7 separate regions of the Homo sapiens genome follow, and regions 2, 3, 4, 5, 6 and 7 are each linked to region 1. The links are contacts of gene promoters, found by promoter capture Hi-C in human tissues and cell types (Jung and others, 2019). All regions are on one chromosome and are shown on one strand. The core of a region is centred on a gene start or on the middle of the fragment in contact, and the rest is flanking DNA. Distances in the headings are between cores, read along the strand shown. Region 1 holds the start of CITED2 (Cbp/p300 interacting transactivator with Glu/Asp rich carboxy-terminal domain 2). Region 2 has its middle 640 kb from the start of MIR4465. Region 3 has its middle 570 kb from the start of MIR4465. Region 4 holds the start of LOC102723724 (a long non-coding RNA gene). Region 5 overlaps LOC102723724 (a long non-coding RNA gene). Region 6 overlaps LOC105378027 (a long non-coding RNA gene). Region 7 overlaps LOC105378027 (a long non-coding RNA gene).

Region 1 (3,031 bases), core at 326-2,825:
TTTTAATTCACGCCGAAGAAGTTGGGGGTTTGATTTCTTTCGCCGGGGTTTCGATCGAGTCAACAGCTCACTCTGCTGGGCTGCTGTTTGCACACGAAGTCCGTCATAAAATCAAACTCGTTTTGCCCCAGCCAGAGTTCGGGCAGCTCCTTGATGCGGTCCAAACCCATTTCTATCACCAAGGACATAAGAACTTCCTCGTCGATGAAATCAGTGTCTATGACATTGGGCGGCAGCATTGCAGCGGGGACGTGGGCCACGGAGGCGGGCATGTTGCCGCTGCCGCTGCCGCCGCCGCTGTTGCTGCTGCCCGCGCCGCCGCCCGAGCTGCTGCCAGAGCCGCCGGGGGTGCTGCTGCCGCCCGAGCCGCCGGGGGTGCTGCTGCCGCCGCTGTGCTTGGGGTTGCAATCTCGGAAGTGCTGGTTTGTCCCGTTCATCTGGTGGCCTGCAGCAGGGTGCAAATCCGGCATGTAGTGGTTGTGGGGGTAGGGGTGATGGTTGAAATACTGGTTGTTGAGCTTCTGCAGCTGCATGCTGGCCGGCAGGGAGCCTCCCTGGCTGGCCACCGGGGGACCCATGAACTGGGAGTTGTTAAACCTGGCCGCGGGGGCCAGCGCGCTCGGGGGGTGCCCTCCGTTCACAGTCCCCGGCCCCATCGCATGCCTGATGCCGCTCGTGGCATTCATGTTGCCCGCGCCGTAGTGTATGTGCTCGCCCATTAGGGCGTTGAAGGCGTGCTGGGGCTGCTGCTGCTGGTGGTGATGGGGGCTCGGGAACTGCCCCATGCCCATGCGGTGGGCAGGGTGATGGTGCAGCCCATTGGTGCCGTCGGGGAAGCGCCCGTGGTTCATGGCCATCATATGGTCTGCCATTTCCAGTCCTGGAAGTGAAAAGGGCAGATAATGAGACCCGCGCCACACGTGTCGCCCACCACAGCGCACCCCACTTTTGCTCGCCTCTGCCCCCCAGGATTCCCGGGCGCACGTCGGCTGCGAACCACCACCCCCAAGATCCCACTAACAGCCTGTGCACCCGGGCTAGCCACCACGGAAGAGCTACCACTCATAACACAGCCGGACGCTGCACAAACAGCCCCTTCCCCTGCGATCGGGCGGGGGGACCCGAGCCCACACCCCCTTTGCTCCCCGAAGTGGCCTAATAAAGGAAGTGCCCCGTAGCCCTGCTGCGAACTTCAGGCATTAAATCAGCCCTCCTCATCCTGTTGTTGCACATCCTGTTGTTATTCCCCAGCTTCGCCTCACGCTCTTCCTCCGGGCAAACCCTGCCCTCGGAGGACTGGGCTGGCAAGAGCCCCAGCCAGCTTCGCCCGTCGCGCTTACCTTCCGTTTTTGCGATTTCTGCTCCGAAGACCGAGGGCGGGCTCGTCGCGTCCAGGACCGGCTCAGCAGCACATAGAGGGGACCTTCCTGGCGTGCAAAGCGCTTCGCTGTCGCGATGTCGGCGCCGAGGTCTCGCAGCGGCCGCTGGGGCAGATTCGGAGCCGTTCCCTTTTATTTCCCCTCCGTTGCCCTCACAGCTCGGCAGGACCGCCCGGCAGCTGCCAACAATGAGCTGTGTTTCTTAGGGCTTTGGCCACAGTTAATATAGGCATTTCGGAAAGGCGGAGCGAGAGCCTCCAGGGCGGGCGGCGCCAAGACGCGGATTCCGGAACACCGCGAACACCCTGGACCGGGTCCCGGAGCCGCGTCCCCGCCGCCCGCGGCACGTGCTGCAGAGGCTGCGGGGCCCGGGGGCCGCCCAGTCGCCCCGTCGCCCCCCGACTCTGGTTTCTTCCCGGCCCAGAAACGCGAGGTTGGCTCAGCCACCCCCGAGGCAGGGGGAAAATCCTCCCCTGCCGCCCCGCCCGAAGGTAGAGCCTGCCGGGATAGCCACGAGGAGAGCTCACCGCCCCCCTCAGGCTGGATCTACCCCACCCCCAGCTTTCTCACTCGGTTCACCTAGCGATCTGCCCCGCTCTCTACGGGAAAAGGGGACTCGCCCAGCGCCCCCCGCCCTCCAGAGTGCCCTTGTGCCTCCCCGGTTTTGCAAAAGCTTCCACAGGCAGCGAAGAATGGCTGTGCTTCCTCGAGTTGGGTTTTAAAGACCCGGACAAATAATGCGCCCTTTCCTGAGCGCGCCTTCCTAGGCTGTGCCTTTGTGTTTTCATACGGGCAGTGGGTAGACCTACTCTAGATCACCGCTTGTAGATGCATTTTTTTCCTCCACTCCTTTCAAGGACAGGAGCTGGGGGCGGGGAGGGGCAGCCGCTGCAGGTGGACGGAGCGCGCTCGAGGGCCCGGCCACCCCCGCTCCCGCGCCCTGGAATTCCAGTCCGCGCTTTCGGGCCCGCCTGCCGCTCCCGGGGTACGTGTGCTTCTGCTAAGTTTGCGTTTGCAGCTCTTGGTAGCTTTGGCATCCGAGCTGAGGCGTCTCTGCTCTGTAAACAAACTCAGCGATCCTCGTCCCCAGATCCACCTTTTTGCACATACACAGTTACTTGCTTCTGCTGTTGCCCTGGATCCGGGAGGTGGGGGTGTGTACAAACTTGCAGAGCCTCCCTCCGGGCTCTGCCTGACGGTTTGGGGTTGATTTAGAAGCAAACGGGTTTGTAATTAAGAAATTTGAGGGCTGAGTAAGGCTGCTCTTGCTGGAAAAGGAAAACAAATAGATAACGTGGTAATCGCTTTGTAAATAAAGTCGTTCTGGAGGTGGGCACGTAGCTGCACGTCCCGTATGGCACCACGCGCACACACACGGCTGGGACTCTTCCTTTTCAGTGAAATTGTTCAGTGGGGCAATGGGCGATAATAATAACCTTGCTTCCACAACGCGGCACAACGAGCCTGGTCGCCCGTTTGGTTCATTGACTTGCAAATAAAACCCCTAACACAGGTCTGGGCTACTACCAAGTCGGAGCTCTCTGGCTTTCTCACATGGGGAAGCCGAGTTGTTTCCCCAACACCATGATGGGGCTGTTCTGAGCTTTTACATTGCTCTTTATGTGGTAAAATCGAGTTTAGCGCTCCGAATA
Region 2 (3,031 bases), core at 209-2,708, 1.9 Mb after region 1:
TAAAAACATAAGCACATATATGAGAGCTAAAAGATAGCCCCAGAAAGGCAAATCTAAGAGTTATTGGCCTTATAGAAGAGCTGTAGAGAGAGATTGAGGTAGAAAGTTGATTCAAAAGGATAATAACAGAATTTTGCAAACCTAAGGAAAGTTATCAATACTCAAGTATAAGAAGGTTATACATTACCAAATGGATTTAATCCAAAGAAGACTAGCTCAAAACACTTAACAAGCAAACTTCCAAAGATGAAGGATAAAGAAGGAATACTAAAAGCAGCAACAGAAAAGAAACAAATAACATACAAAGAAGCTCCACTATATCTGACAGCAGACTTGTCAGTGAAAACCTTACAGGCCAAGAGAGCATGTCATGACATATTTAAAGTGCTGATGGAGTAAAACTGTTATCCTAGAACAGCATATTTCATTAAAATATACTTCAATATGAAGGAGAAGTAAAGGCTTTCCTAGACAAGTAAACTGAGGGCTAACACCAGATTTGTCCTACAATAAATGCTAAGCAGAGTTCTTCAATCTGAAATAAATGAACATTGACAATCATTTAGAAATCATCTGAAGGTAAAAACAAAAACAAAAAAAACTCACTGGTAATAATAAGCAAGAGACAAACACAGAATATTATAATGCTGTAATTGTGGTGTATAAACTACTCAAGTTTTGAGTAAAAAAGACTAAAAGATGAACCTATCCAAAATAATAACTACAACAACTTTTCAAGACATAGACAATTTGATAAAATATAAATACCAAAGGAAAAGGTTAAAAAGAGTGGGGGATTAAGTTAAAATGTAGACTTTTTATTAGTTTTCTCTTTGCTTTTTTCTCAGCTTGTTTTTGAAATCGGTGTTCAGTTGTCACTAGTTTAAAGTAATGGGTTATAAGATGTTATTTACAGGCCTCATAGTAACCTCAAATTAAAAAAAAACTATAAAAACTACACAAAAAATAAACAGAAAGAAATTAAAACATACCATCAGAGAAAATAATCATCACTAAAAGGACATCAAGAAGGAAGGAGAGAAGGAAGGAAGAGAAAACCACAAATCAACTGGAAAACAAATAACAAAATACCAGTAGTAAATCTTTGCTAATCAATAATAACACTGAATATAAACAGACTAAACTCTTCAATCAAAAGACATGGAGTGGCTGAATTAATGAAAAAGTAAGACCCAATGATCTACTGCCAACAAGAAAAACACTTCACCTACAAATACACACATAGACCAAAAATATATCTACAATGAACTCATTTTTGACAAACGTGCCAAGAACATACATAGGGGTATTGACAGTCTCTTCAATAAATAGTCCTGCAAAAACTGGATATATGTGCAGAAGAATGAAACCAGACCCTGGAATAAAGGCTTAATTCAACATATGACAATATAAATCTACTAAAAGAAAACTTTGGGGAAACTTCCCAGTGCATTGGTCTGGGCAAAGATTTCTTGAGCAATATTCCAAAAGCACAGACAACCAAAGAAAAAATGAACAAATGGGATCACATCAAGTTAAAAAGCTTCTGTCCAGCAAATAATTACAACCATCAAAGTAAAGAGACAACCCACAGAATGGGAGAAAATATTTGCAAACTATCCATCCGACCCAGGAATAATAGCTATAATATTTAAGAAGTTCAAACAACTCAATGGGAAAAATAATAATCTTTTTTTAAAAAATAGGCAAAAGATCTGAATAGACATTCCTCAAAAGAAAATACACAATGGCAAACAGATATATGATAAGGTGCTCAACATCATCAATCATCAGAGAAATACAAATTAAAGCTTCAATAAGATATAATCTAACTCCAGTTAAAATGATTTATTTTTTCTCAAAAGACAGAGCATAACAAATGCTAGAAATGATGTGGAAAAAAGGTAAACTTCATAAATTGCTGGTAGGAATGTAAACTAGTAAAATCACTGTGGAGACCAGTTTCCAGTTCCTCAAAAAAACTGAAAAGAGACCTACCATATGATACAGCAATCCCACTGCTAGATATATATCACATATAGATAGATGATAGACAGATAGATAGATAGATAGGTAGATAGATAGATAGATATCTCATATATATATATCTCTCATATATATATCATATATATCTCTCTCATATATAGTATATATATCTCTCTCATATATATATATCATATATATCTCTCATATATGTATCTCCTATTTCTTTCTTAGATTTGAAGTTTCCAGTCATTATTTCTGCAAATAAGCTTTATGTCTCATTCTCTTTATCTCTCTTCTCTTTCTGAAAATTTTATGGTATATAAATTGGTCTGCTTGATAATGTCTCATAAATCACTTAGACATTCTTCACTCTTTTTCATTCTTTTCTCTTTTGACCAGTTTTTAAAATTCATTTCTTCTTCTGTTTGTTCAAGTTTGCTGTTTAACTCTAGTATTTTTTTCAATCCAGTTATTATATTTTTCAGCACTAAAATTTCTGTTTTTAAAAAATATTTTTTCTACCTCTCCGTTGATATTCTAATTTTTTCCATGCATTTTTTTTCATGAGGTCATTGAGCATCTTGATGACAGTTATATTGAGTGTTTTTTCAAGTGATTTATATACAGCTTTTCTTTAGGGTTGATTTCTGGAAATTTCTTTGATAGGGCGAGGTTTTCCTCTTTCTTCATGTGACTTGTGACTTTTTGTTGGAAGCTGTGCCTTTGAAAACAAACAAACAAATAAACCTCCCTTAATAGTTATGAACTGGCTTTATACAAGGAAAGAACTTTATTGGCTAGCCCATCTAGAGATTCTGGGTGCTTCTCAACCCTTTTCGGTGGATGCATCTTCTCTTGAACTATGCATGCACATATTCAGTTGGAGGAATTTACTGGCTTTATTACTCCAATAGTATTCTGTTTGGTGCTGTCTATAGTATTTCAGGCTTTCTCAAATTGTCACAATCTGCCTACATCTCTTTTGTTCTCAGCAGTCTCCAGGATTCTAGAGTATGCCTGCGATAAGTGCTCTGAGTCAGACAAA
Region 3 (3,031 bases), core at 203-2,702, 1.9 Mb after region 1:
AATAAAGAATCAGAAAAAGAAATTAAAATAAATAATTGCTGGAATGTCTCAAATTTTTTGAAAAATATTAATCTATGCATTTAAAAATCTCAAAGAACTTCAAGTAGACTGAAGACAGTAACTCATAGTAAAGGAACACATGAAGAGAATCAGAAATGATATATAAGAAAATTAAAATAATGAAATCTATAAATATGTATTATACTTACTTATTTCTTCTTTGAATGACAAAATCATGTAAAGTAATAATTATAACTGTATTGTTGAATGCATAATATTCATAGATATAATTTGTAGAACAATAATACCCAAAGTGAATAGAGCTATATGGGGGAAAAATTTACATATTTCACTGAAATTAAGTGAATGTGAATATAAAGATGTAGCTGAAAAGATATAGGGGGCAAGTCCTAGGTCAACCATTAAGGTAAACACTGAAAGAGTAAATAATTAAAATTATTAAAGTGTTACATTATAAAATATTCACTTAAAGCAAAAAAAGATATTAAAGGAGGATAGAGGAACAAAAATGACATGCCACATATAGAGAACAAAAGGTAAAATGGCAGATGTAAATCCAATTATATCCACAGTAATATTAAATTGGAATACATTAAACAATCCAATGAAAAGGCAAATTGCCAGACAGGATTAAAGCAAAACAACACAAAATAAGCATCAATCATATTCTGTCTACAAGGGACATATTTCTGATTCAAAGATGCAATAGTGTGAAAGTGAAAGCTGGAAAAGATATTTCATGCAAACTGCCATCACAAGAAAGATATAGTGGCTCTACTGACATCAGATAAAAAGCCTTAAAAACGAATTTTAAAAAGTTTCTAGAGAGATAAAGAGGAATATTTTATAATAATAAAAACATCTACCACAAGGATATAACAATTGTAAACATATATGCAATTAAAAACAGAGTGCCAAAATACATGAAACAAAAAAAAAGCAGTAAAGACACAGTTTGACAGCAATAATTGGAAAGTTCAATACCTCAATTTCAATAATGGATAAAAAATCTAGTAAAGATTAACAAGAAAATAAATGACTTGAACAACATTATAAACCAGCTGGTCATCTTTAGAACACCATAAATGTCTGTGAAACCTGCCACCTAAGAGCAACAGAACACAAGTTTTTCTACAGTAAAGTTGAAAACTCACAAGGTAGACCATGTGCTTGGCCCAAAATAAACTTCAATAGATTTTAAAAACTACAAATGATGTGAAGTGTCTTCTCTAACCACAGCTGAATAAAATTAGATATCAATTAGAGAAAGAAATTTGGAAAACTCACAAACATGTGAAAATAAAACCACATATTCCTAAATAATCAATGAGTCGAAGATGAAACCAAAAGGAAATTTTGAAATTACTATCAGATTAATGAAAATAAAGGAACAACATGTTCAAACATATAGTATGTAACTAAAGCAGTGATTACAGGGAGATTAATAACTGTATATACCTTTATTTAGAAAGAATAAAGATCTGAAATCAATTTTCCACTTGCATGATGAGGACACTGGGGAAAAAAGAGAAAACTATGTAAAGCAAGCAGAAAGCATAATAGAATAAAAGTTAGAGAGGGAATTAATGAAATAAATAATAGAAAAACAATAGAGAAAATCAATTGCATTGAAAACTGAGTTTTAGAAAAAGATTAACAAATCGACAAACCTTATCCAGGTAGATCAATTAAGAAGAGAAAATTCTCAAGTTACTAGAATTAGAAATGAGGAAGGCAACATTATAACCAACTTCAAGGAAATTAAAAAATGTTGTAAAAGAGTACTATGAATATTTGAATGCCAACTAATTACACAACTTTGTTAAAATGGAAAAATTCCCAGAAAGATGCAAACTACCAAAAATGATTTCAGATTAAAAATACAAGTTGGGCCGGATGCAGTGGCTCACATCTGCAATACCAGCACTTTGGAAGGCCAAGGCGGGCAAATGACCTGAGACCAGGAGTTCAAGACCAGCCTAGCCAACATGGTAAAACCCCGTCTCTACTAAAAATTCAAAAATTAGCCGGGCATGGTGGGACATGTCTGTTGTCCCAGCTACTCTGGAGACTGAAGCAGGAGAATCGCTTGAACCCAGGAAGTGGAGGTTGCAGTGAGCTGAGATAGCACCACTGCACTCCAGCCTGGTTGACAGAGCAAGACTCTGTCTCAAAAACAAAACAAAACAAAATAAAACAAAACAAAAATAATTTGTGTGGGCCTATGACAAATAAATAAGTTGAATTAGTAATCTGAATCTATCCACACAAGAATATGCCAGCCTCAGATGACTTCACTGGTGAATTCTACCAAAAGTTTAAAGAATTAAAAATTCTTTTCAAACTCTTCCAAAATTACAAGAGGGGAGTACCACCTTATTTTGTAAGGCCAGTAATACCCTGACCCCGATACTAAAACCAAACAAAGGCATCGCAAGAAAATTACAGACTGTTAAGTATGAAAACAGATGCAAAAATCCTGGACAGCATACAAGCAAACTGAATCCAACCACATATAAAAAGTGTTATGCAACATTATAAATAAATGAATTTATTCCAGAAATTTAAAGTTGTTTTACTTATTCCAAAGCAAATTAATGTAATGTACAATATCAATGGTATTAAAAAGAAAAACCACATGATCATCTAAATGGATAGACGATAAGCATTTGAAAAAAATCCAAAACCATTTCTTAATAGAAACACTCAACAAACTAAAATCAGAAGGAACGTTATTCTGATTAATTAGACCTACGATAACCCATAGATAACATCATCCTTAATGGTGAAAGACTGTATGCTTTCCTGAGATCCTTCAGATCCCTAAGATTAGGAACAAGACAACAATGTTATTTTTACCACTGCTATTCAACACTGTACTGGTTCTAGCCAGGATAATTAGGACAGGGATTAAATAAAAAGCATAAATAGTGGAAAAGAAGAAGTAAAACTATTCCTATTTATAAAGACACATAGTCTTACACACAGAAAATTGTAAAGAATTAATTTT
Region 4 (3,031 bases), core at 1-2,500, 1.5 Mb after region 1:
TTTTCACAACCAAAACTTTACAAAGTGTACAAACAGTGATAGTTGGATAGTTGTGGGGGGAGCCTGGTTTAGTAAAAACATCTTCTAAAAGGGGAAAAAATACCTTTAAAGGTTAACTGCTGTTGGGTAGAAAAGGGAAAAGGGGAAGAAAAAAAAAGTTTAAAAATGCCTGGGGAAGAACCTCTTATTCTTATGCAACTGGTTCCTCCACCAGAGGTAAAGCTTAATTACTGTCCGATAAAGCTAAACCCTTTGGCCAGGAAAGGGGAAGGCTGCGGTGGCTTGTGGTTGGGAACCAGCCAGCCAGCTGTGTGGGACCCTTGGGCCATGCGTCCCAGCCCCAGCAGGGCAAGGAACTGCTGCTTAGCAATGGGTCCCAAAAAAGGAAGGAAAAGGCCATGAAAAGGCCCGGGAGCCACGGGGGTGGGGGCATGGTTCCCCCACCCTCAGAAGTCCGAGGATGTAAAGACTTAGAAACAACAGTGACAGATTTTGAGCCCTCATTTTACTCACCACTTTTGGAGCTCCCATGCTGCACACCAAAATGTCACAGGACTTCAGGTAAACATGTGGTTCTTGTCCATCCCATGGCCACAAAAATTTACGCTCACAGATGCTTTAAAGAGTGAGCAAAGCAGGGTTTTACTGGGTGAAAAGGGAATAAAAGGGGGAAACAGGGATCCCAAGGAAGGCCACGATCACCTACTACAAGATTTCCTGCCTGCCATTGGAATCCCAGCTTCCACACAGGAAGAGGAGGGGCCAGGCTCCTCCTCCCTGCAAAGGGCTTGAACTTCCCCAGGCTCCACCCCAGTGGGCAGGCTGGCTGGAGTTTCTGTGAGGTCCCCCCTCCCACTTGGCTGTCTCAGAGTCAGGAGGAGGAGTGGTATGGGCAGAAAAAAATAGGAAGGGAAAATTATAAAAGAATTCCCTAATCTCTAAATGTTAATAAAGTTAGCAAAGTGAAGATTTCAGGTGTTAAACTTGACAGTTTAAGATTAATTTAGTTTTATGTTTAAATCTCTTAGAAATATCTAATAATTTGTCACAGAAAATTTTTCTTACACATTATTTGGTTACCTTCAATAGTTCTAGGTATTCCAGCTCTATCAGGAATTTAGGCTTAAAATGTTTATTCTGACTTCCACCATGAAATCAACATTATTTTCACCTTAGTCTTCCCTGGCATAGTTATTCCATACAGTGAGTCACTTTACATGATTCAATTTGACTGATCTCTATGGTTGTTTTTGTTGTTGTTTTTACTGACCCAAGCTTTACTTTATTTCCACTCCTTCACTCCTAAGTATATCTAGTACTTGAAACTTCATAGACGGTTTCCATTCACACACAAACACCCTCTATACAATGTAAAAACTAGTTAACTGTTTGCAGAGAGATCTTGGAGGCTTACTCATGAATAGTTGTAGATCCTTCTCTAGTATTGTCTTCAGTCATCATCCATTTCTAAGGATTTTTTTCTTCTGAGTTACCAAGAAATTTAAGTTTGGGGATATTGAAATAAATATATTAAACACGCAATTCTACAAATATTATAAACTCTAATTTTGAACACATAATTTCTGTGGAAAATGATTAGTAAGTAGGAACAGAGTTTCTTAACTGACGTGAAATATTTCAGTATAAATGAAAATAGAATAGAAAAGTACCTAGAATAGTCTTTTAAATTTCATTTTAACCCAATTTTCTTGGCTATTCATTTAGTTTATTCAAAGAATCAGAGTGTAAAGAAAAAATTTAACCTTATTAGTTTGTGTTGATACAATTGAAAGTGCTCAAGTATTTACAAAGACCCATTTTCTTTCAGTGAGTTCTGATCCTCTGTCCTGAAACTCCTTCAGAACTCTAGTTAGTGACCACTTACTTTTATTGATTATGTTGATACAGTTATAATATATACATGAAATAGGTGAACTTTGGCATTGCCACTGAGATAATTCTACTAATTTCAGACAAGATTTTAATACCATTATTTTACATTAATATTTTACTTTCAAGATTATATCTGCTGAGAGTGATTATACTATAAGTGAAAGAATAACCATTATTAACAGCACTTTTGAGGTTTGGACTTCATCTTGTGACATCTTCCCTCTTTGTAATTACAGTTTTCTCGTCTAAAATTCTGACTAAAAGTAGTAACCACTAAGATAAAGCAGAATTAACTTCTTCTTGAGCTTCAGATAACTGATTCACTGTAATTTCCAGATTTTAAGAATTGAAGAAGTATCCTGCAGTTCTTGATGACACCTAAGGACACAATCTTGCCTTATTTATTAATCCCAATACCTGACTACTCATAAGGCTTTCCTGGATATAATGTATATATTAATTATGGTAATAACTATATCAGTTCTTTCTATAGGAGTTCAAGAGCCTTGCACATGAAGCTCTTTTCATTCTAGGAGGTTGCTCACTCTCTGTTTTCTTGTGAGATGTAAGATCTGTATTATAAATGTTAGTGGTTGACAAGAATTCAGTATATGTAGTGTCACAATAAAATGGCATAAAAATAAAAGTTAAAGAACCTTGGTTTCTTCTATCATTATTTTTCTATGTTACCTTTAACAAAATTCTCTAGACTTTTTCGAGCTTTGAGATATCTTGCCTTCTTGTCATTGTGGTTAGTGAACGGTCTTCTAGGTTTCTACCTGAGCCTTCTATGGGTCAATCTGGTTACTATGCAGATGTGGTGCTATTTCAGTTATGACACATACAAAATTACTTGAAGAAATTAGAAGACCTAGCTGGAAAAAAAACAGTAATTATTAACTCATGGGTTTCCAGACTTTATGCTACTCATTGCCTGTTTCTTCCAGCAATATTTTCCACATTTAGAAGAGAGAAATATAATTTTTCATTAACACAAGTTCATAGTTGTAACACTCTCCCTGAAACAAAAGAAAGATCAATAAGAGAAAAGCAAGCAGAAGGATATTAATATGCATGCTTCCCATCACACTGGAGAAAAGTGTATCTAAAAGTAACTCTCTCAAAGCAGTGGTTTAGG
Region 5 (3,031 bases), core at 140-2,639, 1.5 Mb after region 1:
TTGCATTGCTTTAAATCTAAGTCTTACAGACATTATTAAGTCAATATGTACAGGGGGTATATAAAATGATCATTATCTTATTTTATAAATGATTAACGCCATAGTAGTTATTTTTAGGAACTATTATGAGAAAACATTCCCAACAAGGAGAATAGAAATAAAATGCAGGTTTCCATCTGCATTTTCAGTTTTTAAAATCTCTTGATACGTTTACAGATTTAAAAAGCATAAAAGTATATGAGGTACAGTTGAGTGGTCAGAAGATCACAGTGATACATAAAATAAATACAAACCTAGTAACTACAAATACAGAAAAGTACAGTTTGGAATTATTCCCTCAAACACTAAAGTGACATTCTTATTGATGATGCAATTTTATTTTGGTGAAATTTCAAACAACAAAGTATGCTCTTTTTTAAATTTACCTTATAGTTGTTTTCTGGAAAATTTAAATTAAAACAGTACAAATTATTTTGTTTATAAGTAAAAGATAATTTGGTTCTTGGTCCAAATAATACAGAGTCTCCTCACTCGACTTTGCATGAATAACTGACAGGAGTTCAAAAGAGGTCAAAAGGTCTTGCAGGGGCTGAAAAGTTTTTCTTCATGTTATATGATGAACTTATGCACTGCAGGACATCTGGTACCCCAGCCATCCCCCAGTGAAATGTGTGCGGTTACTCCCAATACACTTTTACAACCAAAAAATCCATATACATTTCTAAAGCATCACTTGATGTGGCTCCACTCCTCATAATAACATCAGTTATATGGTATGCTATAGATTAGATACAATATGGTATATGAGTAAACATACAGAGGTAGTCACTACCATCTTATTAGGAATAGAACTGAGACCTTAAAGTAGAATCAAAAGAGAGGAAACTTTCAGTATAAGAAAAACTGAATACCCCAGAATGTAGTATGTTCCTGGTATGCAGGCAAGTGAAGCAAAAATGAATCACTTAGTAATAATTTGCAAAAAGCAATTCTTCCAGTGCTTAATTAATTGAATGGCCACATTTCCAAGAACCAAGTATTATAGTAGAATTTTTCCAATTGAGAATTTTTGAGTTATCAATCCACAAATATTTCTATATCAATTTATCTTTTTCTGACATCACCCAGTTGTCATTTTATTGGATAATAAAAATTTCTTGTATATTTTGTATTGTGGGTGTTGTTCGTGTCACAAGATCAAATATTTTATCAATGGTAGGATATCTTTCATATCCACAATGTTTTATCCCCCCTTCTCTTAATGTTTAGATTTAGAAATATCTTTACAAATTTATGATTTGCAAATATGCACACACTTGAGGATTACTGACGTAGTTTAAGAGGAATTCTTGAATTTAGCTGTAAATTGATTATAAGATCACTAACATTTCAACTAAATTTCTCTTCTATTATAATTTCTTCCTTGCAGTGTTCTTGATAATTATTTATGTGCAGTTGTCTTATATCCTCCTTTGGAATGATGATTGAGGAGTGTGGCTATGTCTAATTTATTGAATAATCATATTTCCTAAAATCTGTAGCTCCTTGTCATAGCACTTATGAATGCTCAATGAATAGTCTTGCTTGACTCACTAAACTTGATCGTGAAGCAGATTTGGCAGAGACTATGTCTATGTCTTTCTGTTACGAAAATAACCAGTCAGGTCTGGCAAACTGTGAAGGGAAGAACAAATGAGACTTCAAGTTGAATGATTGTCATCATATATAAAAACTAGCCAGCCGACCGCTCTTTTTCTTTCATTTTCCCACTAGCTGTGTGATTGTCACGTCACCGGACTGCTCAATGAACCGTTTAAATAAATTGACTGGTTAATTTCAGCAGGTATCTGATTGATTCAAATCTTTTTATTTACTTTTTATTCCACAAAACTTAAAGGATGCTGGAACTGATCACGTCATCAGATAAATTTAGCCAGACCTACGTCTAGCCTGGGTCTTTGATGTCAGATCACTGAGAAACAAAAAGGAAAATTAAAGGAACCAGGGGCCCTAAAAGAATCGTCGGTGGTACCTTTCTCTTTTTCTTTCTGCTGATTCCTCCTTCTTTTTCCTATATTCCATTAACACTCTCCTTTTTTTTTCAACTCCTGCTGCTTCAGCATGTTGAAAGATAGTAAGCTATGCATAAAATCAGATGCGCTATTGTGAGCCCCGCCAACGATGCTAGATGAGACACACAGCAAGGCCGGGCGCGGTGGCTCACGCCTGTAATCCCAGCACTTTGGGAGGCCGAGGCGGGCGGATCACGAGGTCAGGAGATCGAGACCATCCTGGCTAACACGGTGACAACCTGTCTCTACTAAAAATACAAAAAATTAGCCAGGCGTGGTGGCGGGCGCCTTTAGTCCCACCTACTCAGGAGGCTGAGGCAGGAGAATGGCGTGAACCCAAGAGGCGGAGCTTGCAGTGAGCCGAGATCGAGCCACTGCACTCCAGTCTGGGTGACAGAGCGAGACTCCGTCTCAAAAAAAAAAGAAAGAAACAAAGAAGAGACACAACACACAGCAAGGGAGAATAATGAAAAGCTTATGTCAGAAGAAAGCTGTGGCATTGTGTGTGTAACTGACCATTTGCCAGCCCATAAAGCACCGCAGAAACACTTAAGTAGTATTCGGTTATTTTATTCCTAAGCATTGTCAAAATCACTTTTTCTCCTAAGAGTCTAGCAACTGAGGAAGTAAACAAGTATTTACTGAACTATTAAGATTATAATGATTCTTCTCCTCAAAAACATTAAAGAAGAAAAAAATGTATTGTGCCGAAACAGAAAGGAGTCCAGGGATGACAATGAAAAAAAGTTGTTTCCCTGTTTGCTTTTTTGTCTGTTTACATGCCCAAATGAAGCAATTTCAATGTCTTTCTTAATGTGGAAAGGGTGATCAAATCCATCTTATTTTAGTCACTTATCTCTCTTACCTGCCATTCCTGAAATTTTGCACATTGTAAATGTAAGTAAAAAAACTGAAGTACCGAGTGAAAAAAAATAGTCTTCAAAATATAGTTCTTAAAC
Region 6 (3,031 bases), core at 307-2,806, 1.4 Mb after region 1:
ACAGGCTAATTATTAGGACTGAATTAACCTATGAATTTAATGGATTAATTAAATCTTATAATAAACATTTTGAAAAAATTATGACATGAGGAGTGGCAGCACAGTGGTTGCAACAACAAATGCCTTACAAATGGTGGCAAAAGGGAGCCAAGAAGAAACAGCTTGATCCATTTTCTAAGAAAGACTGGTATGGCATGAAAGCACTAGCTACGTTCAATATAAGAAATATTAGAAAAACGCTTGCCACCAGGACTCGAGGAACCTACATTTTATCTAATGATCTCAAGGGTACTATCTTTGAAGTGAGCCTTTCTGATCTGAAGAATGATGTTGTATTTAGAAAGTTCAAGCTAATTACTGAGGATGTTCAGGATAAAAACTGCTTAACGTCCATGGCATGAATCTTACTTGTGACAAAATGTGTTTCACGGTCAAAAAATGGCAGACCATACCTGAAGTTCACGTCAATGTCAAGACTACCAATGGCTATTTGATTTGTCTATTCTGTGTTAGTTTTACAAAAAAAAAAAAAAAATACAACAATCAGATACAGAAGACCTCTTATTCTCAGCACCAACAGGTCTGCCAAATCCAGAAGAAGATGATGAAGCTTCCCACCCAAGAGGTGCAGAGAGATTTCCTGAAAGAAGCAGTTAATAAATGGATCCCACGCAGCTTTGAAAAACTCATTAAAAGGTCATAAAAAGATTTGCCAATTTATTTATACTCTCAATGATGTCTTCACTAGAAAATTCAAAGTTTGAACTGGGAAAACTTGAAGGTAGTAGTTCTTGAAAAGCTTATGGATATGAACTGCCAGTCCAAGAATCTGTTTAAAATTCAGATGTTTAATAGTGACAAACAAAAATCCTGTATGTGAAGAAAAAAAAACATCATGATATTGCTTTCTATATAATTTTTTTCTGTTGTATTGTAAGAAAGATACATCCCTTTTCCTATAGATAAGACTTCTGAGTGTTTTTCTGTTTGGCAATATTAGCAATCTATTTTCTGCCTCAGAAAACCTATTTATAGACCTCCTATTATCAGGCATTGTACTGAATTATTCTTTGTGTCCAAAGTTTTTCAATTTATTTCCTTGGTATTTTAGTGCATATACACATTGTATAAAATAATGGCCTTTTAGTCTTCTTCCACTGTAGCTCTCTTATTTCTGTTTTATTCTAAATTCATGAAACATAACTTTCAAAAGGAATCTTACAAATAGTGATAATAACAGACATCTTCCTCAAGTTGATAATTTTAATACATATTGATATTCCATCATTCATTATAATGTATTTTGTTTAAAGTGTATTTACTTTGAAAATAAAACATCTTTTGTTAATTTTCCTTATAACATTTTTGAATACCAATTTGTGTTCTAGCATATCCAATCAAGTTGGTCACACTGTATGAGAATGAAATGTATTTATTTAACTTACTTATATTATAAATTGTTTAAGTAGTCTGCTTATATTGATTGTCTTTATACTTCTTTTTGAAAATTAGTATACTGATCATTGTTAACTCATGCTTCTATTTCCATGCTAATTATTTATAGGATTCATATCTATTTTTTCATATTATGATTTATGTAGCTTCTTATCTCTTATGACCTGAACAGTTTATAAAATGCCAATTAATTCATTTCTGTGAGAAAATAAAATAATTCCGTAAAAATTAATAAACATTTTTATAAGTTTCTCAATGTTATTGTCAGTTATTGATTCACTGACTTCTCTGTGTAGTATATAAAATCACATATTTATTTAGAAAATCATCCATTTCATTGATGTTTTCAACTTTAGCAAATTAATCATGAAAGCAATTTTGCGCAATGTATTATATTTATGATTGTTTTTATTTTCTTTATTTACATTAATAGGTTTCCCTAGTTTGTTTATTTTGTTAATTTTTTTACAGGGGTAAACCTTGGATGTGCGAATGCTGTTACTTTTATTAGAGTGTTATAATGGAAATAAAGTAGTTACATAATGAATATAATGCCACAAAGAAGGCATAACTTAGAATTTGCACTCTTGACTCACTGCTGTTTTATTTGAAGTATTAGTTTTCTGTTGCTACTGGAACAAGTTACTACAAAGTTAGTGCCTTATTATTCTACAAGTCTCTAGATCAGGAGTTTGACATAGGTTTCACTGGGCTAAAACTAAGGTGTCAGCAACGTTCCACTTCCTTCTGGAGTTTCCAGGGGACACTCTGTGTCCTTGCCTTTTCCAGGTTCTAGAAGCTTCCCATATTCCTTGACCTACATCCCCCTTTAAGGTCAGCAATGATGAGTCAAGTTCATCTCACCTGGCATCAATATGACTGTCTTCTCCTGCCCCATCTTCCACTTCTAAAGGACTCATAGTGATCAGATTGGGTCCACCAGATACTCCAGGTTAGTTAAGGTCATTACCCTAATCACGTCAGCAAAGTCTCTTTGCCACGACATAACATTTAGCAGGATTCAGGTGGGAGGATTAGGATTGGACAACTTTGGTGGGCTATTATTTTGCTTCCCACATCTGTTTTCCTTGTCAGTCATGTTTTCAGATTCAAATCAAGTTGCACATCTTTCGTAAAAGAAATTAATGTACACGAATCGGATTCTTATCCATGATTGACTTTCTTTCCTCTTTGTCAAATTTATCTTTTAATTGGTTTCTAAGCATATTCCGAAAAGTTGTTTAGCTTTCCATGGTTGGCCAGGGATCTATCTACATAAATTATTGCATTTGGACACAATTTGCATTAATTTATGAATATTCCCTAAGTTAATAAACAGATTGTGTTGACAGAATTTGTTTGCCTGAGTTGGTCATCAGTTTAATCAAACTAATTACCCTATTATTTCAGTAAATAGCCATATTTGGAAAACATTTTTTACTGCCACCTAAGTTAAAGGAAAAAATGAACAGGACATAAGATTATGAGTAAGGAAGAAAGAAATTTTGTTATCAGCTTGTGTATACTCTACAAAAAATATGCTCGTCACTGTTTCATTGAAGTTTCACAGTGTAAG
Region 7 (3,031 bases), core at 240-2,739, 1.4 Mb after region 1:
ATTTCAGTCCACATACTGCTTGTCTTAAAAGATAACTCACGATATAATTCCATCAAAGAGGATAGTATAAATTCTCTAAATGTTTGTTTTAGATTTAACCATAGCTTTCTCTTTACATTATCTATCCAGCTCTTTTACTGAGGGATTTTGATCTTCTACTCATTGGAGGAAACTTTTCCATAAAACCAAAAGCATAACTCCTATCTGAAATTGTTTATTTCTTCAAAAACATTTATTGTATACCTAAAGCATTCAATTCATTAATAAGGAATCTAGTGATAGGGTTGTTTAATGGGTGAAAAATGCACTTTCACTTTCAAACCAATTGAATATTGTTGTGGTATGAATGTATCCCCCAAAATTCCTACATTGAAATCCTAATTCCCATGATGGTATTAGAGAGTGGGCTTTGGGGAGGTTATTAGGTCATGGGGACATAGCCTTCATAAATGGGATTAATGTCTTTATAAAAGAAGCCCTAGAGAGACTCCCTGTTCTTTCCACATGTGAGGATATAGATAGAAGGTGCCCTTTATTATCTGAAAAGTGGGCCCATATCAGACACAAAGGCTGTCTTAATCTTGGACTTCCCAACCTTCAGAATATTAAGAAATAAATTTTGTTTGTTTATAAGGCACCCAGTTTACGGTACTTTGTTATGGGAGCCCAGATGGATGGAGACAGACCTATAATACCTAGATCAGTATTTTTTAAAGCATGATGCATGGATGAGCTTCATTTAGGACTACCTACAGGTGTTTGTTAATAGTGATTGCTATGGCCTTACACTGGGCTTAATAAACCAGAATACTTAAATTCAAAACCACTGCTGAGCATGCCACTGCATGTAGAAAGGTGTGAGAGCCACTGAGTTAGAAAGAAAAATGATAGATAGTAGATAATCTATATTTAAGTCATTTTCTAATCACAAGCATTTATAATAGATTTGATAATAGTCTGTAAAGAAACGTCTTAGGAAACTAGTCCTGCTATATTCAGGCACCTCTGCAAATTTTCCACACATCTAATACTTAGTTCCTTGTGCTAATCCTGTTTCATTAAAATATTCTTAAAGAAATTTGTTTGCATATTATTATTGAAATGGTTCCCAAAATATCTCTATTGAATTACTTCCTTTTCAAAGTATTTTAAAAGAGCAATGATGTATTTTTCTCAGCACACTAACCATCAAGACCTGTTTTATATAACCAAGAGTGTTTTAAAGAAATAAATTATGTTTGCCTAGCATCACCCAACTCCATCAGCCAAGACCAGGCACTTAATTTGCAAGTTCTAGTGCAAAATAGATATGTGCAACTACTTGTTCATTATTTATTATTCATTTCAAAGTGATGGTATCAGAGCATTAGCAGAACCACAGGGCCCTGTAAGACTGCACAGGTTTTTAATCCATGAAGTTGTCCTTGCCAATAGAATACTCATGTGACTTCTACTAGTGAATGACCAAAACATGGTTTAGAAAAAAAAAAAAATTCAAGACTTCATTAAAAAAATAAGATATTTGGCCCGGCGCGGTGGCTCACGCCTGTAATCCCAGCACTTTGGGAGGCTGAGGCCGGTGGATCACGAGGTCAAGAGTTTGAGAACCTCCTGGCCAACGTGGTGAAACCCCGTCCCTACTAAAAATACAAAAATTAGCTGGGTGTGGTGGCGGGCGCCTGTAGTCCCAGCTACTCTGGAGGCTGAGGCAGGAGAATGGCTTGAACCCAGGAGGTGGAGGCTGCAATGAGCCGAGATTGTACCACTGCACTCCAGCCTGGTGACAGAGTGAGACTCTGTCTCAAAAAAAAAAAAAGATATTTATATAATATTTATGTTGTTTAACACCTAAAATTTTTAAACAAAAGTAAGTCCTTTTTTTGTTTTGTTTTGTTTTGTTTTTTTGAGACAGAGTCTTGCTCTGTCGGCCCAGGCTGGAGTGCAGTGGCGTGATCTCGGCTCACTGCAACCTCTGCCTCCTGGGTTCAAGCGATTCCCCTGCCTCAGCCTCCTGAGTAGCTGGGACTACAGGCCCGCGCCACCACGCCTGGCTAATTTTTGTATTTTTAGTAGAGACAGGGTTTCACCATGTTGGCCAGGATAGTCTCCATCTCCTGATCTCGTGATCCACCTGCCTCACCCTCACAAAGTGCTGGGATTACAGGCGTGAGCCACCGCGACTGGCCAAAAGTAAATCTTAAGTTATATAATGCTACCTTTAGATTGTATTAATTTTATTTATTTATTTATTTTTCTGGTGAAAAATATGTATATTTAGAATTATCCAGCTAGACTCAGTGTAAATGATCCCAGTTTTATAGGACAATTTCTTGAAGAAAATCACTTATGACAATTGATTACTTTGGTCAATTACTTATTTTAAAATGAATTTTCTATCTTTTAACCCCTTTTTACTCAACTCCAAACTTGTTCTAACCAAATGAATCTAGACTTGTAGAATACTGTTCCCATATAATAAATACTTAATTTGGCAGAAAATAGAGACAGGTGATACCGAGGTAGATCTTTGACTTCCAGGTAATATGGAGCTTAATATCTCAGATCCAATGTTCAATCTCTTAATAAACACAGACCAAAAATGTGTAAAACAGGAATACTAATGCAATACAGCCAAATTAAGTGGTATTTAACACAGTTTCCTCCTATTTTTCTTCTTTTGCCATCATAAACACATTTTTAAAATTCCACTGTTTCTAAATACATACTCCTCTCACATGTTCCACATGGAGACATTTAAATAACTATGTAGTATGGGTAAAATAGAATAACCCTTAAGATCTCTGCCAGCTGGCACTGAAATGAACCTTCAAAATCATTGTTTTCCCTTCTCTGAAGGACTCCCTGAGGATTACATTGAAAACAATTCTGTCTTGCTGTCTAACATAGTTCATGCATCAACTCTAACCTACAGTGACACAGAAGAATTCCTGCAGTGTATTACCCTGAATAATCCACAATGAACATTCAGAAGACAATTTTAACATTCATGTTCTACATATATAACATGTAT

What was found. Contacts are between HindIII fragments. The study calls those that stand out against the background at their distance.
Region 2: a fragment that was not itself captured here is called in contact with the fragment with the promoter of CITED2 in region 1 in 1 of the 25 tissues and cell types used here (dorsolateral prefrontal cortex).
Region 3: a fragment that was not itself captured here is called in contact with the fragment with the promoter of CITED2 in region 1 in 1 of the 25 tissues and cell types used here (heart left ventricle).
Region 4: a contact is called between a fragment that was not itself captured here and the fragment with the promoter of CITED2 in region 1, in 1 of the 25 tissues and cell types used here (spleen).
Region 5: a fragment that was not itself captured here is called in contact with the fragment with the promoter of CITED2 in region 1 in 1 of the 25 tissues and cell types used here (dorsolateral prefrontal cortex).
Region 6: a contact is called between a fragment that was not itself captured here and the fragment with the promoter of CITED2 in region 1, in 1 of the 25 tissues and cell types used here (dorsolateral prefrontal cortex).
Region 7: a fragment that was not itself captured here is called in contact with the fragment with the promoter of CITED2 in region 1 in 1 of the 25 tissues and cell types used here (lymphoblastoid cells).

What each region holds. Positions count from the first base shown.
Region 1 is chr6:139,373,073-139,376,103 of GRCh38, forward strand. It overlaps CITED2 (Cbp/p300 interacting transactivator with Glu/Asp rich carboxy-terminal domain 2), which reads right to left and starts at 1,576. Exons shown (of 2, transcript NM_006079.5): 1 at 1,341-1,576; 2 at 1-880. The coding sequence starts at 872. The coding sequence ends at 60. RefSeq lists silencers at 285-384, 955-1,104, 1,565-1,944, 2,115-2,424 and enhancers at 675-734, 1,245-1,414. The HindIII fragment of the contact is 4,975 bases long and covers 1-3,031 here.
Region 2 is chr6:141,318,541-141,321,571 of GRCh38, forward strand. No RefSeq gene overlaps it. Among named protein-coding and RNA genes, the nearest start is that of MIR4465, 640 kb to the left of the region's middle. The HindIII fragment of the contact is 4,420 bases long and covers 1-3,031 here.
Region 3 is chr6:141,256,794-141,259,824 of GRCh38, forward strand. No RefSeq gene overlaps it. Among named protein-coding and RNA genes, the nearest start is that of MIR4465, 570 kb to the left of the region's middle. The HindIII fragment of the contact is 9,295 bases long and covers 1-3,031 here.
Region 4 is chr6:140,897,675-140,900,705 of GRCh38, forward strand. LOC102723724 (a long non-coding RNA gene) reads right to left here and starts at 750. Exons shown (of 7, transcript XR_428030.5): 1 at 514-750. LOC124901413 (a long non-coding RNA gene) reads left to right here. Exons shown (of 3, transcript XR_007059792.1): 3 at 1-505. The HindIII fragment of the contact is 5,294 bases long and covers 1-3,031 here.
Region 5 is chr6:140,827,411-140,830,441 of GRCh38, forward strand. It overlaps LOC102723724 (a long non-coding RNA gene), which reads right to left. Exons shown (of 7, transcript XR_428030.5): 3 at 1-3,031. Among named protein-coding and RNA genes, the nearest start is that of MIR4465, 150 kb to the left of the region's middle. The HindIII fragment of the contact is 3,458 bases long and covers 1-3,031 here.
Region 6 is chr6:140,761,426-140,764,456 of GRCh38, forward strand. The region is part of intron 5 of LOC105378027 (a long non-coding RNA gene); the gene reads left to right. It also overlaps the pseudogene RPS3AP24. Among named protein-coding and RNA genes, the nearest start is that of MIR4465, 79 kb to the left of the region's middle. The HindIII fragment of the contact is 5,829 bases long and covers 1-3,031 here.
Region 7 is chr6:140,733,584-140,736,614 of GRCh38, forward strand. The region is part of intron 4 of LOC105378027 (a long non-coding RNA gene); the gene reads left to right. Among named protein-coding and RNA genes, the nearest start is that of MIR4465, 51 kb to the left of the region's middle. The HindIII fragment of the contact is 6,112 bases long and covers 1-3,031 here.